6 separate regions of the Homo sapiens genome follow, and all the other regions are linked to region 6. Evidence: promoter capture Hi-C in 16 types of primary human blood cells and fetal thymus (Javierre and others, 2016). All regions are on one chromosome and are shown on one strand. The core of a region is centred on a gene start or on the middle of the fragment in contact, and the rest is flanking DNA. Distances in the headings are between cores, read along the strand shown. Region 1 overlaps DNM3 (dynamin 3). Region 2 overlaps DNM3 (dynamin 3). Region 3 overlaps DNM3 (dynamin 3). Region 4 has its middle 77 kb from the start of FASLG. Region 5 overlaps DNM3 (dynamin 3). Region 6 holds the start of PIGC (phosphatidylinositol glycan anchor biosynthesis class C).

Region 1 (3,934 bases), core at 432-2,931, 290 kb before region 6:
AAATATTATATGGTCTGTTTAGCCAATGCTAAACCATTGGTTGTTGTTAGGCAGTAGAGTGCAGTGACTGAGGGAGAGACTAAGGAGCTAGAAGGCCTTGGTGTGCGTCCAGCTTGACTGCTTACTTTGCTGTGTGACTTGGTGAATGTTATTTATCATTTGTGGCTTTTTTCATCCATAGAACGAGGATAATAAGTGTTTCTACTTCATAGGGATGTTGGAGGACTATATGGATTAATCTGTGGAAGCTTTCAGCATAGTGTCCAGTGTATATTAAGCACTTAAAAAAATGTTAGCTTCAGGGATGATTTCCAAAATATTTAGCAACCCAGACAGTAGGGGCATCAACCAGTAAGAACTGCTGTTGGCTGTAAAAATCTAATATGACCACCCCAGTGTTTATGGTATAGATAACAGCTCAGTTAGCCTTCATCAGTTTTATTGTTTCTACTTAAAACTCATGCTCCATCCCCATCCTATCCTATGGACAATGGCTCCTGGACCAGGCTCTGTAGTACTAACAGACTGTGGACTTACTAGGTGCCTGCAATTTATATTTTTGTAATCTTCTTAGTTTTGAGTACCTAGACTTAGTATAGATTTATTTCATGTTCCAGACGATTCAGGATGTTTTTCTTACCTAATAATTCCTAGAAAGACACTAGAGCCAAGCCTTGGGTTCCCTACTTTTTTTCGCCTAATGTTGGCAAGTAATTGTTATAATGTAGGTGTTCATTTTTTTCTCCTCCTTTCCCTCCTCCTCCTCCTGTTTTTTTCTGGAAGAGAAAAATTATATCTAAAGCTAATTGCCTTAAATTCTTTTTTAGAAAGTGATTGTATACTATAAATAAACTAACTCTTTTCAGTAATCGCTCATTTTTTTATTTTTGCAGTAAGGATAGAATGTATGTAAGAGCATTTAGGACATATAAAGCATTAAAGGACATATAAAGTGCAAAAGACATTGTCCTTTTAAGTTAGAAGACTTGATTCCCAACACTGCCACTTGCTAGTTACTTAACTGTAGTTAATTCACTCTGTGTTACATTTTTCCATCTGCAAAATTGGGAGTAATAGAACCTTTCTCATAGAGCAGGAGACCCCCAACCTTTTTGGCACCGGGGACTGGTTTCATGGAAGACAATTTTTCCACAGATCAGGATGAGGTGGATGGTTTTGGGATGATTCAAGTGCATTAAATTTATTGTGCACTTTATTTCTATTATTATTCCATTGTAATATATAATGAAATATGTATACAACTTATCATAACGTAGAATCAGGGGGAACCCTGAGCTTGTTTTCCATCATCTGGGGATGATGGGAGACAGCGACAGATCATCAGGCATTAGATTCTCATAAGGAACACACACCCTAGATCCCTTGCATGTGCAGTTCACAATTGGGTTTGCACTCCTGTGAGAATCTAATACTGCTGCTGATCTGACAGGAGGCAGAGCTCAGGTGGTAATTCAAGTGATAGAGAGCAGCTATAAATATGTATGGCCTGGTTCTTAACAGGCCAAGGACTGGTACTGCGTTCGTGGTTCAGGGGTTGGGAACCTCTGCCATAGAGTATTGTGAGGATTAAACAAGATAATACTTATCAAGCATTTAGGACATACATTTCAGTAAATTCATTTAATTTATTGTATTTATGAAGCACTTAGGATATACAGTTGACCCTCTGAATTCCATGGGTTTCACATCTGTGGATTCAACCAATTGCAGATTGAAAATATTTGAAAAAAATTGGGTCTGTACTGAACATGTACAGGCTTTCTTCTTGTCATTATTCCCTAAACAATATGATATAACAACTATTTACACAGCATTTACACTGCATTAGGTATTATAAGTGATTACTTACAATCTTTAAATAAGATGATTTAAGGTATACAGGAGGATGTACATAGGTTGTATGCAAATATGGTGCCATTTTATATAAGGGACTTGAGTATCTTTGGATTTTGACATCCATGGTAGGTCCTGGAAACAATCCCTCACAGACACCAAGAGACAACTGTAGTTAACATTCAGTAAATTCACTTAATGTATTCAGCAGGTATTTAGAGTACTTACTATGTGCCATACAGTATTCTAGGCACTGGGGATACAGCAGTAAATTTAACAGACAAAAATCCTGCCTGCATGATAATAAAGTGCAAACAATATAGTAAGGAAAGAGAATAGAAAATCTGGGAATGGGGTTGCAATGTTAAGTAGCATGGTTAAGAAAGGTGGTATTTGAGATTATATTGGCAAGCAGTGAGGAAGTAAGCATGCGGATGACTGAGGAAAGAGCCTTTCAAATGGTGGGAACAGTATGTGCAAAGACCCTGAGGCAAGAGTGTGCCTGGAGGCCAGAGGAGCTAGAATAAGGTGAGGGGAAGAATAGGAGTAGATAAGGTTGATAACTGGGACCTGCTTAAGATCTGAGTGGTACAATGATGGGCATGGAGAGGGGATCAGGAATGTACCAGTGAAGGTTTCTTGGAGGAGAAGGTAGATCTGGAAAACAGAGAGACCATGAAGAAGCATATGAAAAAAGGAGAACATTCCTGCTAGTGGGAAGAACATGAGCAAAGGCACAGGCAGTGGAAAAGACAGACCTAGAGAACATCCAGGATCGCCTGTCCAGAACAGACAGTGTGCAGTGAGAAGAGAGGGAAACAAGGTTGAATAAATGAGTGAGATGGATGATGGAGGCCTTGAAACCTAGGCAGAGGACTTTTGGTTTCTACTGATTAGAAAGATGTTTCTAGTCAATAGAAGCAAACCAATGAAAAAATCTAAAGTCCAAATTTAAAATCAATATATAAACTAACTCTCTCTTGCTAAAAGATACTGTTTGGGTTTGTTTTCAGAGACAAGTAAAGAATTTAAAGTTTTATTGATAGGTTTGATGTAAAATAGAGAAAAAGTTTTGATACTTAAAAAAAGTGTTTACTATTAAATAAAAGATTCCCTAATACTCTACTATGTGAGCTACAGTTATAAGCATTATGGCTTAATAAATTAGGTGTTACTTTATTAAAATAATAATCCTTTATGAATAATCTTAGTGTTGATAAAAACATGCTGGGGATCTTGTTCTCTTCTTTCTGCACATGATCAAGCTTTAAACCTAAGCGTTGTTTTGCTTGCTGCTATGTATGTATGATCACATACTCACAAATAAGGGGCAAAATGAGAGAGGCAGTGAGTCAAGTCATCTAAATGGTCACATTCGTCCTTTGGAAAATTATCTTGCAACTTGAGACCCATTGGCATTATTTATTAATTACTGCCTCTTTTTACATTCTACTTAATGCCAAGCTATGCAAAAAAGTTATGGTTGGAGAAAAAAGCCGTCTATGGAAAAGAACAAGCATTACCTGTGTGTGAGTCCTACTAGATTCATCAGACTTTTGTCTTCTTTGCCTCACACTTTTTAAATGTATTATCTTCAGAAAAAGCATTTTTACTTGAAAATAAGTTTGTGTTTCTGCTACAGCAAGTTCATCTCACATTGAGTTATTGTCCAAGACTGCCGTGGTAAATATAGTCTGCTCCACCTAGAACTGAACTTATTTTCATATGGATTGGTCCTCCTCAGAAATTTAGCATGTGTATAAACATGTTTCTTTAGCTTTCAAATGTGAATGAGATCCAGTGCTAAGTTGATTTTCATGAAATCTATCTTAAGAAGTAGATGATGTGACTATCAATTGTGTACAGGATAGAATGTTAGGAAACTTTTGATTCTATTCCTGCCTTTTATTTTGCAGCAGGAATTTGGCAATGTGTGTGCTCCCTCTGTTGTTGAGTTTCTTGAGTGTCTTCATGAAATAGATGCAAAATATCAGCTAATGGCCACAATAGATTTTCACTAAAAGGCTACACGAAATTATTAATTCTGTTTGTGCTGTAAAATGTGAATTACAGTCATGCA
Region 2 (3,752 bases), core at 523-3,022, 260 kb before region 6:
TTATTATGTACTTGAGTCTGTATAATTCTGAGAGTACAGTAGTAAATTTTTTACATATATGAAGTGAAGATGACTGGAGAGGGGAGTAGGAGGTTGATGTGTAAGTCAGAGAATCCACAAGTAAGGAAGGGATAGGAATGAACATAGATGAAGCAGTTAAAAGAAGCAAGGTAGTAAGATAGTGCATGCCGTGATGATGAAGAGAGGGAGAGAGACAGAGAGAAAGGGTGTGCAAGAGATACAGCAAGAGAGCAAAACAGAGAGAGAAAGAGAGACAGAGAATGGACCCTGGTTTACTTCAACTTCAAGCTGATGTTACAGAGATATCAATGAAAGGAAGAAAGAGTAAGTCACTGGGTTTGATTATTAGTTGATCATCAGTGATCTTTAGGATTTCATTGTCAATACAATGGTAAAGACAGAAGCTAGATTGCAGGGGGTTAAGGGGTCACCTTATGGAGATGAAATAGAATAAGTCTTATTCCAGCTCCATGGGCATGTCTCTATCGCTTTATGTCTCAGTCCATAAAATAGAGCAAAAATGGTGATCCTCCTCTAGTCTAAAATATAAGGAATGCTTTGAACTGCTGGGTGAGCTAATACTCTAAAGCCAGGGCGGTGATAGTAGTTATCTGTGTGTACTTTGAATGAAACTGGACTTAGAATGCTGAGCTAGTTGTTTTGTGGAGCCTACTTTCAGAATGTCACCTCTAATTTTGCATTCATGAAAAGCATTCTCCTGCCTGGACTAGAATCCAAAAATTTTTTGTTTATTATTAGTGGTGACTGATTGTCATTTGTGGACTGTGATCTACATGTAATGAAGTGGAATTTGGCCACTGGTTGTGTTGCAAAGCTTTTCTGAGTAGTGTTATTGCATCTTAGTTTTGACAAAGTTTGTTACTCCCACTAGTATTTAACTGGTATTAAATTCAAGATTATATTTTCATAATGTTGTTTGGAAACCAAAAGAAAATAATTGGTATGAACGTGCTTTGAAAAGTTAAAGGATTATATAAGTATTAATTATAATTATCATTAAAGTGATTTAATAGAAGTATTATTCTACTAAAATAAAATAAGAACTGCTAAATTCAAGATGTCATTGAGAAGAGGGGAGAAGTTTTTTTTGCTATGGTTTATTTCAGCTTCTGTATAACTTACATGGACTTTCTAAGAAAAATGTATACAGGCAATATTTATAAATATGTGTGTATATTTTAATGATGCTATGCCGGATCATTTCTGCTTGGATTATTTGTGGCCTTATTTAATTCTGGACTTATTTTCCAGCATAGTTTTGGGAATACAGATTCAATAATTTTTAGATATAACCAATAAGTACTGGGTGACTACTCTGTAAAAGCACTTCTTCATATCTCACATTTTAATCTTCACAATAGCTTCATCAGAGCAGGTGTTATTACTTTTTTATGTATTAAAAAACTAAGGCTCTGAGAGGTTAATTAGATTTTCGCCCATGGCGTACATAGCAGGGATTAGACGACTAGAACCCTACCATTAGTAGATAATAAGCTCAGGTGGTGAAAATCAATTAGCTTCAGTAAAGCCTAATTGTATCTGTAAATATGTTACAAATATCATACCGTGTCTCTGAGTTCTGAGTCAAATTTGCAGTGTTTTTGAAGCAGCATTGCCTTCTGTTACCTGGCTGCTCTTGTATAGTTTAGCATGAATGCATGGCAGTTTGCCCTGTAGGAACAAATCTAGTCTATGTGGATATACTATCATGATTCAGTTAGGTCTCAAGATCAGTAAATTAATTTATGTAAAGAATAAGATACTATGTATTTCGGTTTTTCAATACAGAACCATGAGTAGGAGAGTTTGTATGTTTACTGCATGCTAACCAACACTTGTTTGTTCTTTATGGTTTACCAATTTCACTCGTTAGATCCTGACTTTTACCCTGTATCGTAGATAGGGCTGAGATTATGCACCTCATTTTACTCACAAGGAAACTAAAGCCAAAGAACAGTGTGTGATTTTCTCAGTAGCCTTCAAATATATTGGCCTAGAAAATATTCTGATAGATAAATAGTCTAAGGACAAGTGGATTCATTGTAATATCTGCAATGCATTTTATTTCTTATATAATTAAGAGCTTACTGCTAGAATACAGTGTGATTTAGGTAAAACTTCTCAACATATAGCATACTTGAGGGAAAACAGAAGATCATAAAAAGTTTCCTTCTTTTATTGCAGGAATAGCATATGATTTATTTGAAGCCTAATTATTTTCCAGAGGAATGCTCTACATGTTTCCAATAGCTGTTTTGTGTTTCTGTAGAGGGTTAGAGGAGAAGCTGCCAGTTTCCTCCCAATACTGATGTTGCAAATCTCAGAACTTTAATCTGGAACACTCTCCTCTGTTATGTATATGTATGAAAATTTGCCCTACCTATTACCTTACTTTGGCATGTGGCATTTACTTGTGAAAAATGTCACAATATCTAATAGTTTATTTCCTACTCATGGATATAAGGCAAAATAACATTAAACAAGAATAAATATCTGTTTACCAACATTTAAATGATAGTTCTTTTGTTGTCAACTGGCAAGTACGGAGCACTTACCAAGTGCCGCCACTCCGCTGGGCTCTGGGGAACACAGCTCTTCCTTAGCTGAGCTCATAATCTGGACTGTGAGGCCTACACATCAGGGCAGAAAGCTTCTAGTTTCACTTTTCATATAGTAATTTTGAAAGCATAAGAGGCTTTGCAAAACATCTTTTAAAATAAAGATGCTTCTCCACCATCTCTAAGATAAGTTGGTTCTTTTTGGCAAAGGTGATTTTAATTGTTAGTACATTTCCAAGACAAGAAATGCAATCTGTTGACACGCCCTTCAAAATAATCAGATGAAAACAAGGAACACAAATATGTCCAGCCCTGAACTCTTCATTTTTCCTCTTGATGAATCCTTTCTTATGCTTTAAAACACTTGAGTTTACACACACACACACACACACACACACACACACACACACATATTTCTGGTAGGCGTGGAGATATATATCTATATATATCTTGCTATTAGGGCAATTCCCTGAAAGATTACACTACCTTCTTTATGCATAACGTCAATGCCTGATATTAAACAGAAACGAACTATGTGACTATGCTTTCCTTTTTAAATATGTGAACGTATTTCTCTACAGAGTTGTTTTGTAGCCGTATTGCTACTAAACTGGTGCCCAGCTCCAGGCCTGCAGACTGCTGACACACAATTAATCTCACAAATTTATGAATGCCAAAGCATGGAGCAAAATGAAAACAACTGGGGGAATGTTTAAGGGAAATAATTGGACTGTATCCAGATGTGCATGTGTAAAACATCACCACTTAACTCCTCCCCCATATCCTGTCTGAAGACAGGGTTTTTTTTTTTTTTTTTGAAAATAAACTGGGGTTATTTGAAAGAAGTTGTGGTCTCTGACTAAAACTGAATAAGCAAGGCCAGGCTGGCCATAATTCTGTGTGTTCTTGTATTTTTGTTTCTTAATTAACTCATTAGGTGCTGATGAATCAATCTGCCTCATGTCTGTTTTTGGTGGGTGTTGCCACAACTTTATGAACTCTATTTAAAGATAATATGTAAGGGGTTTCAAGACTGATAGTCGATTTCTTTGAGTTTTTGGTTATAACGAACTGGAACTTTTTACTATTAGAAATAGGCAACATTATTGTAGTGTGAAGGTCATCAAGCTGGGACGTGAAGTCTGGTCAAGA
Region 3 (3,555 bases), core at 360-2,859, 330 kb before region 6:
ATCGAGGTTGCAGTAAGCTGAAATTGTGCCAGGGCACTCCAGCCTGAGTGACAGAATGAGACCTTGTCTCAAAAAAATAAAATTAAATTAAATACGTGTAGCTCTGAAATATGATTCTGAACATAGTAAATTCTAATCTAATAAAGAAACTGATTTAAGCTTGATTAACAATTAGAGCAAACCACTGAATTATGACTTATATTAAAACCCTAGCAGATGCTATTGTTGCTTTAGATGGGAGAGATTTTCCTTTATCATCCTTGACCTCCCAGACATTGTGACAATACAATAAGACTGCTACATGTTTACAGTAGCCCTTGGTGTTGATATTGCCCTTGATTTAGAACCATGGTACCAATAATTTATTGACTAATCTGTGATCTAGGGAAGGTATAAGTATTTGGTATTCCAAAGGAGTATAAAGCACAGTTGATCTCTACTTGATAATAATATCAGCCCTTCACTGATGCCAGACATTCTATTGAGTACTTTATATACATTCATCTCACTTAGTATTTACAAAATCTATTTGAATTTAGGATTATTAGTTCCAATTCTTAGTTGACAATAAATGAGGCTTGGCTATATTAAGTAAGTTGCCTAAGTTCACATAGCTAGTAAATGGCAGAACTGACCTAAAAGCCCAGAAAGTCTATGCTTTGAACGAATAAGCTGTAATCTTATTGGGAAAATGGGAGCACAGCAAACACAGTGGCGAGTAATTCAAAACAAGGTGATGTAAGTGCTAAACTCAGATAGTGAACAGAGTAGATAGAAGAAAGAGAGCCACATGGGCTACCAGAGCTTCTTTATTTGTTAAAATAGTATAATAGATGGACTCCTTTTTTTTTTTAATCTTAGAATGTTACTTTCAATTTAGCCATTTAAGGGTTTTGCAAAGGACAAATTATAAAACTTCATTGACTACAAAGGTGTCACGAGATCTTTTGTTGGTGATGATGTCCATATTGCATACCAGAAGATTCTTTTGGAAGGATTGCCCAGAAACTGCTCTACGTATTTATACTTCTACCTGTCATTCTCTGGAATATTTGATATTTTAATAATCATAATAATAGCTATAATTTATTGCATGGGTGTTTTATATCAGGCAGTGTGTTAGGTGCTTTGTTCTTCAAAATAACCTTGCAGAGCATATACTCTTATCTTCATTTCGATGGATAATAATAAAAATAGCTGATATGATTAAGCATTTCTTACATACCAGCCTTGTGGTAAGCACTTGACATTCATTATTTTCCTTAATCTTCACAACGACCTTATGGTCTAGGTAGCAACGGTTTCATGACTGAGGTAACTGGGGCACAGAGAGGTTGGATAACTTGTCTGGGGTGACACATGTAGTATGTGGTAGAGCTAGGATTTAAACTCATGAAGTCCAGCACCAGAGCTGGGGCTCACAATTGTTTGCTTCCACTCTGGTTTCTCCAAGGCCACGTGACTAATATGGTGGAGCTAGGGATCAACTACAAAGTCTTGGCCCTTTCCACTCATTGGTACTCTTTTGACTCTTAAATCTGAGTGATTCTTTCATCACAGTGACCCTGGCCCTGAACCTCTTCAGTCTTTCCATTTTCCAGTATGTGCCATTCCTGAAAACATAACCAATTCCTGAATGTCAAAGGAATTGCTTTTTTTCCAGTGATAAAAATCTGTAGTGATATCTGTCTTTTTATCCCTGAAAACAGAGGGGAGAATTTAATAGCATAGGCCTGGAGCTTGAGATGAGTTTGGGGCCCCACTTGCCACTTGTAAGCTGAATCATTCACATCATAAGGTTGAGTCGCTCTATGCCTCACAGTGTTCAAAGATAAAAGAGGAAGAGCAGTGTGAATCTCATAGGGTTGTTGAGAAGATTAGTGAGACATCCATGTAAAGTGCACACTGCTTATAGTAAATATTCATTAAGGGTTAGCAACCATTTTTATTATTGCAATTAATAAAGTTGTCCTTTTGAATTCTCAGAATTGTACCAGTAAACTTTAACTTAACCAGTAGTTCTCATGGCTCCTCTAATTTAATAACGTTAGCAGTTTAAAGTAGTCCTCAGGGTTATAATTAATGCCTTATTTATTTACTGAATGTGGGGTATTTACTGAAAGTATAGTTTGATGATTAAAGGTAAATAGGGTTTCCTTAGTGAAAGATTTGTCTTGATGAGATAAGAAAGTCAAATTGGAAAGAAGTAAAAAATTATATTCAGAAAATAAACTCCAAGAATGACCACTGTTATTTTAAATTTTATCTTGGTAACGTTAACATTCCTTAACTTCCTGCTATGTGTGAGGCCCTGTTCTATGGATTCCCTCATTTAATTTTCACCACAATTCTATAAGGGGATATACTATTATTAGCTCTTTCTGCCACTCCCCCACTTTTTTACAATTGAGGAACAGATGTACTCAAAGAAACTCAGGAAGTCGGAGTTCGAGATCAGCCTGGCCGACATGGTGAAACCCCATCTCTACTAGAAATACAAAAAAATTAGTCGGGCCTGGTGGCGGGTGCCTGTAATCCCAGCTACTTGGGAGGCTGAGGCAGGAGAATCACTTGAACCTGGGGGGCGGAGGTTGCGGTGAGCTGAGATTGCACCATTGCACTCCAGCCTGGGCAACAAGAGCAAAACTCTGTCTCAAAAAAAAAAAAAAAAAAAAAAAACAACTCAGGAAGTCCATGTTTTCTTAACGTAAATTTTTACTTTCCTGGCATCAAAAATTGGTCTTGACAAAAGTGCCCAAAGCGTTTACACAAAATTTTACAGCACATCCTGCATCGTGTGGCATCAGCTGTGAGTTATCCCTTTTGTGTTGTCAATCACATTTTAATTCCCTGATAGGCCAATCTCAATCACAAATTTATTGTGAGTGTCTTTTCTTCTTAAATAATCTGATGCAAAGAGGCAAATAATACTGCCTACTGCCTAGAAAAGGGATTTTGACATTATTTCCTGATTTAATTTCCTATGTATTGAATCGATGCCAGACACTCTTCTGGGGGTGGGGTGGTAAATAAGACAGATTAAGTTCTCACTCTCTCATGAAGCTTATATTTTAGTGGTGGAAAAGATAGAAAATGAACAACAAAAAGACAAATGAGCAAGAAGAAATTGTACATATTTTCAGTGTAGAGAATTAAAATTGGTTGCTATGAGGAAAAGTGAAGATGGAGGGGCAGTGTGGAGAGAGGTAATAGGAGAACCTCTCTGAAGAGGGATGGTATAAGGTGAGTTCTGCATGACAAGTCGTGGCTAACCATGCAAAGGTCAGAAGGTAGAGTCTTGCCAGAAGGTACAGCAAGGACTAGAAAGAACTTGCATGTTGTAGAAACCAAAAGATAGCCAGTGCGGCTGAAACATGTGGCAAAGAGTGGAAAGAGATTAGGCTGGGTGTTCTAAGACACTTTCTGTTTTTAGTGTGGATATTGAGATGTAGGTGATCACTTCTACCTGTTTCGTACTCTTCATAAAGGTTCTTCCATTACAGAATCTCTAAGACTCTATATACTTATGTACCTGCCCTACCCAGCAATTTGGCA
Region 4 (3,710 bases), core at 573-3,072, 290 kb after region 6:
ATTTTCCACATAGACAAATGTATCTGAATAAAAAGTTTTATTTCCTCCTTTCCAATCTGTATGTTTTTTACTTCCTTTTTTTGTGTTACTGAACTAGCTAAACAGAAAGTACAATGTCAAATAAGAGTAGTGAGAGCAGCTAGCCTTGTCTTGGTCCTAAGTATTCACTATTTCTCCATAAAAAATTAACTGTACATTTTTCATAGCTGCCTTCAATCAGTTTAAGAAGACAACCTTATATTTATAGTTTGCTGTAAGTTTTTTAAAAAAATTATGACTGGACATTGAGTTTTGTCAAATGTTTTTTTCTGCATCTATGAAGATAATCAAGATAATCACATAGTTTTTTTTTTTTTAGTTTGCTGATATGATTAATTATACTGATTGATTTTCAAATGAAGAAACATTCTTTCATTTCGTAGATAAACTTATCTTGCTCATGGTGTATATTCCTTCTTATATGTTCCTGGATATTACTTGTTAATAATTCATTGGGAATTTTTCGTGATCATGCTCATGAAGGATATTGGTTTGTAATTTTATTCTCTTGCATACATTTTGTCTGGTTTTGTTGTCAGGGTAATGATGACCTCACAAAAAAATTTAGAAAATATTTCTCCTAGTCTATTTTCTGGAAAAAATTATGTTGATTTAATGTTATTACTTTCTCAAATGTTTGGTTGATATTATCAGTGAAGTCTTGTGGTACTTTTCTTTGTTGGAAGGTTTTAAACTATAAATTCAGCTTTTAATAGATGGCTCAGTTTACTTATTTCTTCTCAAGTGAATTTTGGCAGTGTATCTTTAAAGATTTATTCCATTTTATTTAAGTCATTGAATGTATGGGCATAAAGTTATTTGTAGTATTCTCTTGTACCCTTTTAATGTCTGTAGTATCTGTAGTAATATCCCTTCTTTCATTCCTGATATTGATAATTTGTGTTATCTTTTTTCTGTCTTAGTCTGGCTAGGGGTTTATTAATAATTTTGATGTTTTAATACAATTGATTTTATAAATGTTCTCTATTTTGTGTTTTTAATTTTATTGATTTGTGCTCTTTCTTATTTTCTTCCTTCCATTTGCTTTGTGTTTAATTTGCTCTTATTTTTCTAGTTTCTTAAGGTATAAAGTTGGAATATAAATTTAAAAGCTTTATTCTTTTCTTTTTTTCCTCATGTTTCTTGGCTGGAAGTCAATGGATATTGTCCAGAGTTGAAACATTATTTATTTATGTAGTTATTTTTTGAGACAAGAGTCTTACTCTGTTACCCAGGCTGGAGTGCAGTGGCACAATCTCGGGTCACTGCAAACTCCACCTCCCGGGTTCAAGTGATTCTCATGTCTCGTGTCTCAGTAGCTGGGACTACAGGTGTGTGCCACCACTCCCAGCTATTTTTTTTGTATCTTTAGTAGAGATGGGGTTTCATCATGTTTGCCAGGCTGGTCTTGAACTCCTGGCCTCAAGTGAAGCACCTGCCTTGGCCTCCCAAAGTGCTGGGATTACAGGTGGGAGCCACTGTGTCTGGCCCTGTATTTTAATATTTAGGTAATTTAGAATATTTTCTGAATTCTCTTGAGACTTCCTTTTTGATCAATGGGTTACTTAGAAAGGTTTTACTTAATTTCCAAAATTTTTGGAATTTTCCAGATACCCTCGTTATTAATTTCTAATTTAATTCTCTTACGGTCAAAGAAAACAATGCTTTCTATTGTTTTCAATTGGCTATAGTTTGCTTATGGTGCAGAAGATTGGTAGGTAACCTTTTCTGTAAAGGGTCAGATAGTAAATACTTTTGGTGTTAGGGCCATATGGTCTCTCCTGCACTATTCATCTCTGCCTTTGTGACACAAAAATAGCCACAGACAACACACAAACAAATTGGCATGGTTATGTCTCAATAAGACTAATTTACAAAAATAGATGGTGGGTGAAATTTTGTCCACAGGTTATAGTTTGCTAATCTCTGATCTACCTTGGTGAATGTTCCACATACACTTGAAAAGAATGTATATTCTCTTGTTCTAGGGCAGAATACTTTATAAATATTAATTAGGTCAAGTTGACGGAGAATGTTCAGATCTTCTTTTTTTTGTTTTTGTTCAGAGTCACTTTATTTGAAAGGCTCTGCACATATCTTTGCATACCACAAACTAGAAAAACAAGTTATCATAAATTAGAGAATTAAAAATAAAACACATTGATACAATATTTGAAATATGAAAGACCCTGAGAAGTCATATTTGGTAGTACATTTCAGTCACAACAGGCAAAAGTTTGCTATTTTGAAAAAGAATCAGAAAAAAGGGTGAAAGAGATTTTATGTATTTCTTTCTTCTTCTGTCCAAAATCTAGTTCTTGTGTTTGCTATTTTCACTGCTATAATTTAATTAAAAAGTATATAATCTTCTAAAAATTTCTGGTATAATGCTATTAAAAATACATAGCGATAATGCTTTCACATATATGAGGTTTTCACATATTATATAATATGAAAGCTTATAGTTTTCAAAATTAGGCTTCCCTTTCATAGACTGATGCCTGCCACAAACTATTTACTTTTAAAAGATATTTCCTTTAAATACGCTAGTAAACTATCAGATCACTATATTTCATAGTCTATTATACACAACTGAACATCAGAACCTAGAAACTGAATTGGCAGAAGCAATGATTAAATCTAGACATAACTAAGAAAAAACAAAATTAAGTCCCCAGGAAAAGGCTAAGAGAAGGTACTCTGGGCATTTCTGACACAATTTGTCATAATGTCAAAATAACATGACTTTGTAAATAATATTAACTATATGTAATATTTCTGCCATACAAATGACCTAGAGATTGAATTATAACTTCTGTTAATTTTTATAAAAGATAAGTCTGTTCCAACCAGTATTTAGTTGATGAAGAATAGTGTTCATGGAACTTAGGTCAAATAGGGTTGTTCATAAAATAAATTCATTTTTATCTTTTCTAGAATGTTTTTTTTCTCTCAAAAGACAAGGGACTGAGCAGCTATAAAATGTTCACTTTTCTGGTTGTTCAGGTCTTCTTAATTCTTGCCTATTTTCTACTTCTGTTAATTATCAGGAGGTGCTTTGATGTCTCCAAGTATAATTGTAGATTTGTCCATTTTTCCTTTTAGTTGTATCAGTTTTCGATTCATGTATTTTGAAGCTCTGTGGTTTTGCACATACATACCTGGATTGTTATGTGTTCTTGGTATGTTTGCCTCTCTTCCTCCCTGACAATGTTCCTTGTTCTGAAGTTTGCTTTGATAACAATATAGCCATTCTTGCATTCTTTTTGTTAGTGTATGTTGATGGTTTGTCATTTTCTATTCTTTTATTTTTAATTGATCTATATAATAATATTTATAGTAAGCTGCTTATAGACTTTAATTGTATCCCCCAATTTTTGATATGTTCTTTTCATATTTAAGTAGGTCAAAATATTTTCTGAATTCTCTTGAGACTTTTTGATCAATGGGTTATTTAGAAGGGTGTTGTTTAATTTTTTCTTTCTTTCTTTTTTTTTTTTTTTTGACGGAGGCTCACCCTGTCTCCCAGGCTGGAGTGCAGTGGTGTGATCTTGGCTCACTGCAGCCTCCACCTCCCAGGTCCAAGGTATTCTCCTGTCTTAGTTTCTCAAGTAACTGGGATTACAGGTACGTGTCACCAAGCCCAGCTAATATTTGTATTTGTAGTAGAG
Region 5 (3,515 bases), core at 927-3,426, 310 kb before region 6:
TGACATTCCTTTACAGACTCTTGTGACTACCTCTGAAATGTTGATATTTCCCCGAGGATTCCATCTTGAACCACTGCTATTTTGCTTGGAGTTTTACCGCTACCAGTGTTTGTGCTGAGGACTTGCAAGTCTATACCTCCATCCTAATCTCTTCCTTTTGCTTCAGAGGTCAGATCACACTCCATCTGTGTTTCCTACAGCTACCTCAAAGTCAGCATAGCCTTTGCTGAATTTGTCAACTCCTCCAGTTTCCCAAACTGGGTCTTTTTCCTCTATTCCTTCTGAATTTTAGAATGGTTGGTTTTAAAAGTTGGTAGCTGCGATAGTTTCAGAATCATTCTAAAACAGCACACAGTTCAATAAAAATATAATGTAAGCTACATATGTAATTAAAAAATTTCTGATAGCCACATTAAAAAACAAAAGGAAACATGAAATTAATTTTTACAATGAATTTTATTTAGCCCAATATATGTAAAATACATTTTGACATGCAATAATTGTTTTAAATTAATGAGATATTTTACATTATTTTTTGTATTAAGTTTTCAAAATTCAGTGTTTATTTGAACACTTATGGCACATCTTAATGGAAACTAGTCAATAGGGCTCAACCACCATATGTGGTTAGTGGCTACCGGCTACACTATCACCTACTTCTGTCTTTCCCCCTCACTAATCCCACTCTCATTCACTCATAAATCCTGTTGATTTTACCTCCTAGATATTTCTTCAGTAGGTTCATTTCCTTTTAACTTTATACATCATGGCTTTAATTCATATCCTGGCCATATTTCACTTGGGTTATTGCAATGGGTTTTATAACCTAGTTTCTCTGTTCCAGGGAGCATGCAAGATCCATTGAAACGCAGGTACTATAGTAAGATATCTACTGATACGTAGTTTTAACGAGAAAATAAGAAAGCTCAGATTCATATTTAATATTTATTTATTATACATACTGATGCCAGCACCCTTGCTCTGCATCTCTGATACAATGAAATAACTAGTATATTTTCATTGAGTGGTATGATTAGCATGCTACTTGTAAGCCCTGGTAGGGTGGGTAATGGTCTTAGTGTGAAATAATTTAACCAGCTCCTTCTTACTCAAAACTATTAAATAGATGTGATCATTTACTCTATGGAAAATAAAGTTTGATTGTATGTGTGCATGCACGGGCTTCAAGCTTCATTGTGAATAAGAATCACCTTGGCAACATATTTAAATGTAGATTTTTGGGTTTCATATATATACATTCTCATTCATTTGGAATGGTAGGTGGCCCAGGAATCTGTATTTTTATAAAGCATTTGAATGATTGTAATATAACTGGTAGAAACCATACTGTATTAGTCTGTCTTCATGCTGCTGATAAAGACATACCCGAGACTGGGAAGAAAAAGAAAAAGAGGTTTAATGGACTTACAGTTCCACATGGCTGGGGAGGCCTCACAATCATGGTGGAAGGCAAAGAGAGACAAGTCACGTCTTACATGGATGGCAGCAGACAAAAAGAGAGCTTGTGCAGGGAAACTTCCATTTTTATTCCATCAGGTCTTGTGAGACTCATTTACTATCACGAGAACAGTGCAGGAAAGATCTTCCCCCATAATTCAGTTACCTCCCACCAGTTTCCTCCCATGACACATGGGAATTGTGGGAGTTAAAAGTTAAGATGAGATTTGGGTGGGGACATAGCTAAACTATATCACTATACTATACTATCACTATACTTTGAGTATTAGTCTGTTCTTTGTGAAGTAGAGAGTTAAAAAGCCGTGGAGAAAAGTGCATTAGCCCAGACTGGAGAGGGATGCTAAATGGGGGTTATAAAAGCAACAGCACACTGAAATGGAAATTGGGCACCAAGGCAATGCTGAAACAGGGAATCAAGGGTGACAGGGGCTGGAAATATGGAGAGAGGCTTGGAAGACAGTGATGAGAACCGTGGTCTATTCCATAATTTTCTCTGGGATTGGCCTTCCTTCTTCAACTAGAAAAGTTAATAGCAATATAAAAATGAAATCTGATTATTAGGGTATTTTCATCTTCCTTTAGTAACTTACATTCATTAGTTTTTCAATAAGTAATTTTTAAACATTTCAGGATGTCAACATATTGAGGAATTTCAGTGTAGGACAGTTTTTGACCTTAGAACAATATCATCCAATTGCATTTAGCATTTCATTTCTAGTTCTGTGACAACAAAATTATCTTGTATAGAGGACATGGTAAATGATGCCCTCTGGATAACAGAATTTAACTTCACAATAACTCTGAGGGGAAAAAAACCTCACATTTTTCCTTAAATTATATAAATACTTATCTATAAATAATTTCTGTTAAATCTATAATCCAAGTTGTTAATATTTTAAAACTTAAAACCTGTTTAAAAAATTTTATGAAGATGCTACATGTTTTGTAATATGGTAGAGAACAACCAGAAGATTTAAACTTCATAGGTTTAAAATTTTACAATATGCTGTTCAAATTATAAATTAAGACTATTAAAAACTCCAAACTTTTCATTTTAGTTTATTATTTTATCTTTCTCCTTCAGTCAGCCTTATTTAGGACTAACAAGGGGCTAACTGATTGAATTGAGTTTCTTCTTTTCGTCATTTGCTGGCAGGTCTCTGGTGGAAATCCTAATGGGCTGCAAACTAGGCAAACAAATGGGCCAGTAGGCTGGAAGTGGGGAAGGGACAGTGGATATGGAGAGTCTATTGTTCATCCAGTCAACTAAATATGTTTTAATTGTAGCAACAATGCCATAAGTAGGCCTGACACAGTCTATTAGTTTGCCTCACTTCATTCTTGTTTCAGTCACTCCACTTCAACCATCGATGAGTCTGAGATTTTTATTCCATTCATTGACAGGAGAGACTTCCCTTCACTCATCTGCACTTTTGGAAGATAAATTCTCTTGAATAACTCAATGGAAGTTGAGTTTGGAGGGAAAATACTATTTTTATTGCAATTAATATCTTGTTTTTAACTTCTTAGTCCAAGACATCTAATCTCCAGTGGCTTTTGTTAAACTAAACACCTCTGCTGATTTCTGCTTTTTCGTAGGTGATTCGCAAGGGGTGGCTCACCATCAGCAACATTGGCATCATGAAAGGCGGCTCGAAGGGATACTGGTTCGTCCTTACTGCGGAAAGCTTGTCCTGGTATAAAGATGATGAGGTAAGTCACAGAGAGTGATAAAGTTTTCTTGTTAAAGTATTTCTCATTTTAAATTAACTGATATTATTATACTATGCAATTTTGAGACACCAGTGGTTCTCTTTCAGTGAGATTAAGCTTGGAATGTTTGTTTAAAAAGGCACTATTATTTTCTTATAGATTTTAAAGTTTACAATATTCGCCCAAATTTCTTTTTCTTTTTGTTTATTTCTTTGCTGTAACCATATGTTTGCTTACCTGAAGAAATGGAGGTAGGCATCAAAGTTGAAAACCTCCTTCTTTATAATCATGTCAATGTACTGGTAAAGTGAAAACAATTTTCG
Region 6 (3,795 bases), core at 151-2,650:
AAGTCCAGGTGGTTCTTGTTCTTTATGAAGTTTTGAAATGAGACCTCCCTGGAAATTCCATGCTGTGTTGATGTTCTACCAACCTTTCCTTGTTTTCAAAGGCAGGGGCTAGGCCTACAATAGATGAATTTGTCTCTGAGGCAGGACAACACAGCCAAGTTCCTAGAAAAAGAGAGACTGTGAACCTACGAAAGTTGTGAAAGGTCAAGAGTAGTACTGAGATAAAGTCAAATCAACTCAGTTTACTAAAAGTCTGAGAAAAATGTATGTGGTAGTCACCTTATGGGACATTAAAACTGCATTTCAGATTTGAAAATTATAATTCCTTGAATAATAATAGACATCTGTTAGCTATCGCTTATTGAGTACCTACTATGTGCTAAGTGCCTTATGTATCTTCTTTCACTTAATCCTCACCACCTTGTAAGTTAGTATTAGTCCTGCTTTGGTAAAAAAGCTGAGATTCAAGATGCTTAAGTAACTTTGCCCTAAGGTAACAGAGCAGAGCCAGGATTCAAACCAAAGTCTTATCCCAAAGCCTGTGTCTCACATTGTATCTCCCTCTAAAGCAGTTCTTAACTCAGTGGTTCACATATCCCTTAGGTATATCACATTGCATGCTTATATCTGGATTTGTGTAAATTTATAGGGATAATATCCATAGTTTTTATTGGTTCTCAAAGGCATGTTATTTGTATTTTTTAAGTTACCAATCCAAAGACAATAGTAAGCTGCACCATACAGAAAGGTATGAGCTCTATAGTTTAACCAAAATCAAAGCCTCAAAGAAACTAGACTCTTCTTCCATTAGCTGAGCTTAGCATCCTTTAAAGAGCTATCAATCTACTCAAAACAAGGAAACTCTTGAGAGGATCGAAGAAGATAATCATTCCTTTTTCACAATGAGAAAACTAAGAGTCAGAAACACCACAGCCATCCGGCAAATTTGAGAAAAAAAAAATTCATATTGCCCGACTTTATTTCTTCCATGATAGACCACAACAAATATTGCTTGGCAAGCCAGACACCGTTACCCCCTCTGCAGCAGGGATCCCAGCCCGGGAATCTTAAGGCCGCCGCCGGGGTTGGAGGGTCTGCGACGCCCAAAAGGGCAGCGCCCGCCCGCAGAGTGGGGCTGGGAGGGGACGGGGTAGGGTAGGGTGACCCCAGGGTGCGCCTTCACTCTTCTGGCACCCCATTTGGCTTTTTGGGTGGGCCTCCCACTTCCGCCGCCGCCCCTCACTCAGCCTTGGGTCTGCGGGAGGCAGCAGAGGAAAAGGAGCCCCGGAAACACTGACCGTTACACGGAACCCACCTACCCGAGAGTTCCTAGGGTTGCGCAGCTGGGGGACGGCGGCACCCAGCCTTTTTCCCGCTTCGGGGCGCCGGGGCTGCGACTGTGGCCAAGCACTTCCGGGTCCGCCGCAATCTCCTTAGCGAGGGCACCCTTCCCCGGCTGGAACCATCGCGACGTGACTGCTGCCCCCTCCTGGCTGCTCGAAGGACCTCCGGTCTCCTCTCCTGGAGACTGGCCCAAACCCGAATGCTCTGAGCCTAGGAAGGCAAATCCCCAGCAATCCCCTATTGAAAGATGGGATGTGCCATCTGAAGGACTGGGTAAGGCAAGAGAGGACAAGGAAAGAGGCTGGGCCAGTAGGTGAGAGATAATGGCCGCTTTTGTTGCGCTCCTTTATTAAGTCAGGCCCTCAGCTGGGACTTCCCGTGCATCCATGCGTTCATTCCACAGATACTGATTGAATGCCTGCATGTAACAAGCCATGCTTGGGGTGCTCATGATACAGCCGTGAATGAAACACACAAAAATTGCTGCTCTCATGAAACTCTCTTTTTTGGTGCATTGACCTTTACACTGATTATATCATCTCCCCCCTCAAAGAGGACAAATCTAAGGCTCAGATAAGTTGTATTTGTCCAAAGACAGGCACCTGGGAAGTAGATGAACAGAGATCAATATCCAGTTGTCTATAGCTTCAAAGCTTGGTTTTTTTCCTCTTTACCTCCTAAAAGAAGTGAGGACAAGATTGCTAATTAAACTGAGTTCATGGAAATATTAAAGGATATATAAACAGAAGGAAGTAATAAAGAAACAAAGGGATGTAGTAAAACACAGGATACAGTGGAAATAAAAGTCAGAAAACATGACCCATTTACTAGCTCAGTGACTCAAGGCAAATCACACTACCTGAGCTTTGATTTCTTCATCAGTAAAATGGAGATGACATTATTTGCACTTGGCTACTTTATAGGATGGTTAAAGAGTTAAATATAAAAATGGTTTGTAAAGTGTTCACTATATGGCTGCTATTAGCTGACTTTGGCCATCGTAATGATAGCAATGTTTAAGTGTGATATATTCTGTAAAATGTTCTCTATTTCCCTCTAGGCTTCTGTTCCAAAATTTGACAAGATTCCTTGGCTTAGTGAGGCCAGCCTTGTAAACAAGCCATTAGTGCTCAGCCTTCCCAGAAGGTAACCTCTCAGCCACCGAGGGCAAAAGTTTTACGAAACATCTCACAGAAGATGATTTCTTCTTAAGGGATGGGGACAATTATCAGAGGGCACATTTGATCCATTGAGAAACTCAAGTCAAGTGCTTTAAAAATAGAAATAATCCGGGTTTCTCAGAAAAAAATGATCACTGAGTATAGGCCTGGCTAGAGGAGATGAGATCTCAAAATTTTTCCCTCTCCACCACTACCACTCAACAGTATAAGATAATTTTTCCCCTAGACACTGTCTCTCAAAACACTTCCATCCTCTTTCTCACCCCACATTTTCTCCACTGCTGTAGTCTGAAATTTTCACATTTTTACCATCAAAAGTCTAGAACAGTAAGTTCCCATCTTTATAGAATAGTAACTCTGTATGTAACTTTGAGGCACCCTCCTACATTCCTGTTAGTCCTACTCCTTCCAAACAAACTACTATATGACACATAAATCTATTTTTCAAAATTGCAGGAATTACATATCTAGGGAGCATTTCAACTGTCTCTTGAAATAATTGGGTTACCGTGTCCCTTCTCCATTTTTGATGAAATGGTTCCTAAGTGTAGTGATAAACCCCACTCTGGGAAGGGGACATGGACAGAAGGGTAGGTGTGAGGTAGTGTTGGGGTGAATGAGAGAAACCAGAAAGAGGGCAGAGAGAAAGAGAAAGGGCAGGCATAGAGGCCATTCCAAAGGCACACGACAGACTAAAAAGGAATGACTCCTTGGCATTCGAAACAGCTCGTTAGAAAAGCCAGACTCCCCAAAAAGAGTTTCTCCTCCTGTTGATAACTACCATGTACCCTCCTGCCCATGGATAAGTGACTTCATAAGCAAATTCCCATCACTGTCTCCACATCCCCACTTTAGTAACATGTACCTTTGCTTTGTCTACTGTACATTAAAAAAAAATCTCATTCTCAGTAAATAGGTAGACGGTTTTAGTATTTTCAGAACAAAATTCACAAGTGCTTTCAAGTGCTCGTTATTCAGTTGTGTTATTTTTACATAATTTTGAATATAACGAAAGCAGATTATCAGAGGTTCAATAAACTCAAAGGCCTATTTAAGAAACAAAAGTACTAAGTGATAGAGTGCTTATTAAGAGTTGTTAACACTGCATGGATCAGCACGAGTAAGGACAGTCTAGCATATTTTAATTGAGGGTGGGACACAAACTCACAGGCCCATGACAGTCAGATGAGGGGCATAATGAGTAAAGCTGGCCAAACAGGACTGCAATGAATGGGAAATCACCTCCCCGCTTCAGCCCACCCCCACGCCA

The links. The method cuts DNA at HindIII sites, captures the fragments that hold promoters and counts their contacts. A CHiCAGO score of 5 or more calls a contact.
Region 1: a fragment that was not itself captured here is called in contact with the fragment with the promoter of PIGC in region 6 in 1 of 17 cell types (total B cells); the score reaches 5.2 in total B cells.
Region 2: a contact is called between a fragment that was not itself captured here and the fragment with the promoter of PIGC in region 6, in 2 of 17 cell types (non-activated CD4 T cells and naive CD4 T cells). The highest score is 7.3, in non-activated CD4 T cells.
Region 3: a fragment that was not itself captured here is called in contact with the fragment with the promoter of PIGC in region 6 in 4 of 17 cell types (naive CD8 T cells, naive CD4 T cells, total CD8 T cells and 1 more); the score reaches 6.7 in naive CD8 T cells.
Region 4: a fragment that was not itself captured here is called in contact with the fragment with the promoter of PIGC in region 6 in 2 of 17 cell types (megakaryocytes and erythroblasts); the score reaches 7.7 in megakaryocytes.
Region 5: a contact is called between a fragment that was not itself captured here and the fragment with the promoter of PIGC in region 6, in 8 of 17 cell types (non-activated CD4 T cells, activated CD4 T cells, total CD8 T cells and 5 more). The highest score is 6.9, in non-activated CD4 T cells.

What each region holds. Positions count from the first base shown.
Region 1 is chr1:172,155,862-172,159,795 of GRCh38, forward strand. The region is part of intron 14 of DNM3 (dynamin 3); the gene reads left to right. Among named protein-coding and RNA genes, the nearest start is that of DNM3OS, 13 kb to the left of the region's middle. The HindIII fragment of the contact is 2,871 bases long and covers 247-3,117 here.
Region 2 is chr1:172,178,404-172,182,155 of GRCh38, forward strand. The region is part of intron 14 of DNM3 (dynamin 3); the gene reads left to right. Among named protein-coding and RNA genes, the nearest start is that of DNM3OS, 35 kb to the left of the region's middle. RefSeq lists an enhancer at 2,743-2,792. The HindIII fragment of the contact is 1,836 bases long and covers 855-2,690 here.
Region 3 is chr1:172,110,966-172,114,520 of GRCh38, forward strand. All of the region lies in intron 13 of DNM3 (dynamin 3), which reads left to right. Among named protein-coding and RNA genes, the nearest start is that of MIR3120, 26 kb to the right of the region's middle. The HindIII fragment of the contact is 2,904 bases long and covers 158-3,061 here.
Region 4 is chr1:172,733,909-172,737,618 of GRCh38, forward strand. No RefSeq gene overlaps it. Among named protein-coding and RNA genes, the nearest start is that of FASLG, 77 kb to the left of the region's middle. The HindIII fragment of the contact is 1,346 bases long and covers 1,150-2,495 here.
Region 5 is chr1:172,128,097-172,131,611 of GRCh38, forward strand. It overlaps DNM3 (dynamin 3), which reads left to right. Exons shown (of 21, transcript NM_015569.5): 14 at 3,079-3,192. Among named protein-coding and RNA genes, the nearest start is that of MIR3120, 9.0 kb to the right of the region's middle. The HindIII fragment of the contact is 1,978 bases long and covers 1,188-3,165 here.
Region 6 is chr1:172,442,669-172,446,463 of GRCh38, forward strand. PIGC (phosphatidylinositol glycan anchor biosynthesis class C) reads right to left here and starts at 1,401. Exons shown (of 2, transcript NM_153747.2): 1 at 1,320-1,401; 2 at 1-162. It overlaps C1orf105 (chromosome 1 open reading frame 105), which reads left to right. Exons shown (of 7, transcript NM_139240.4): 2 at 2,405-2,490. RefSeq lists enhancers at 1,233-1,756, 1,480-1,789. The HindIII fragment of the contact is 3,601 bases long and covers 1-1,995 here.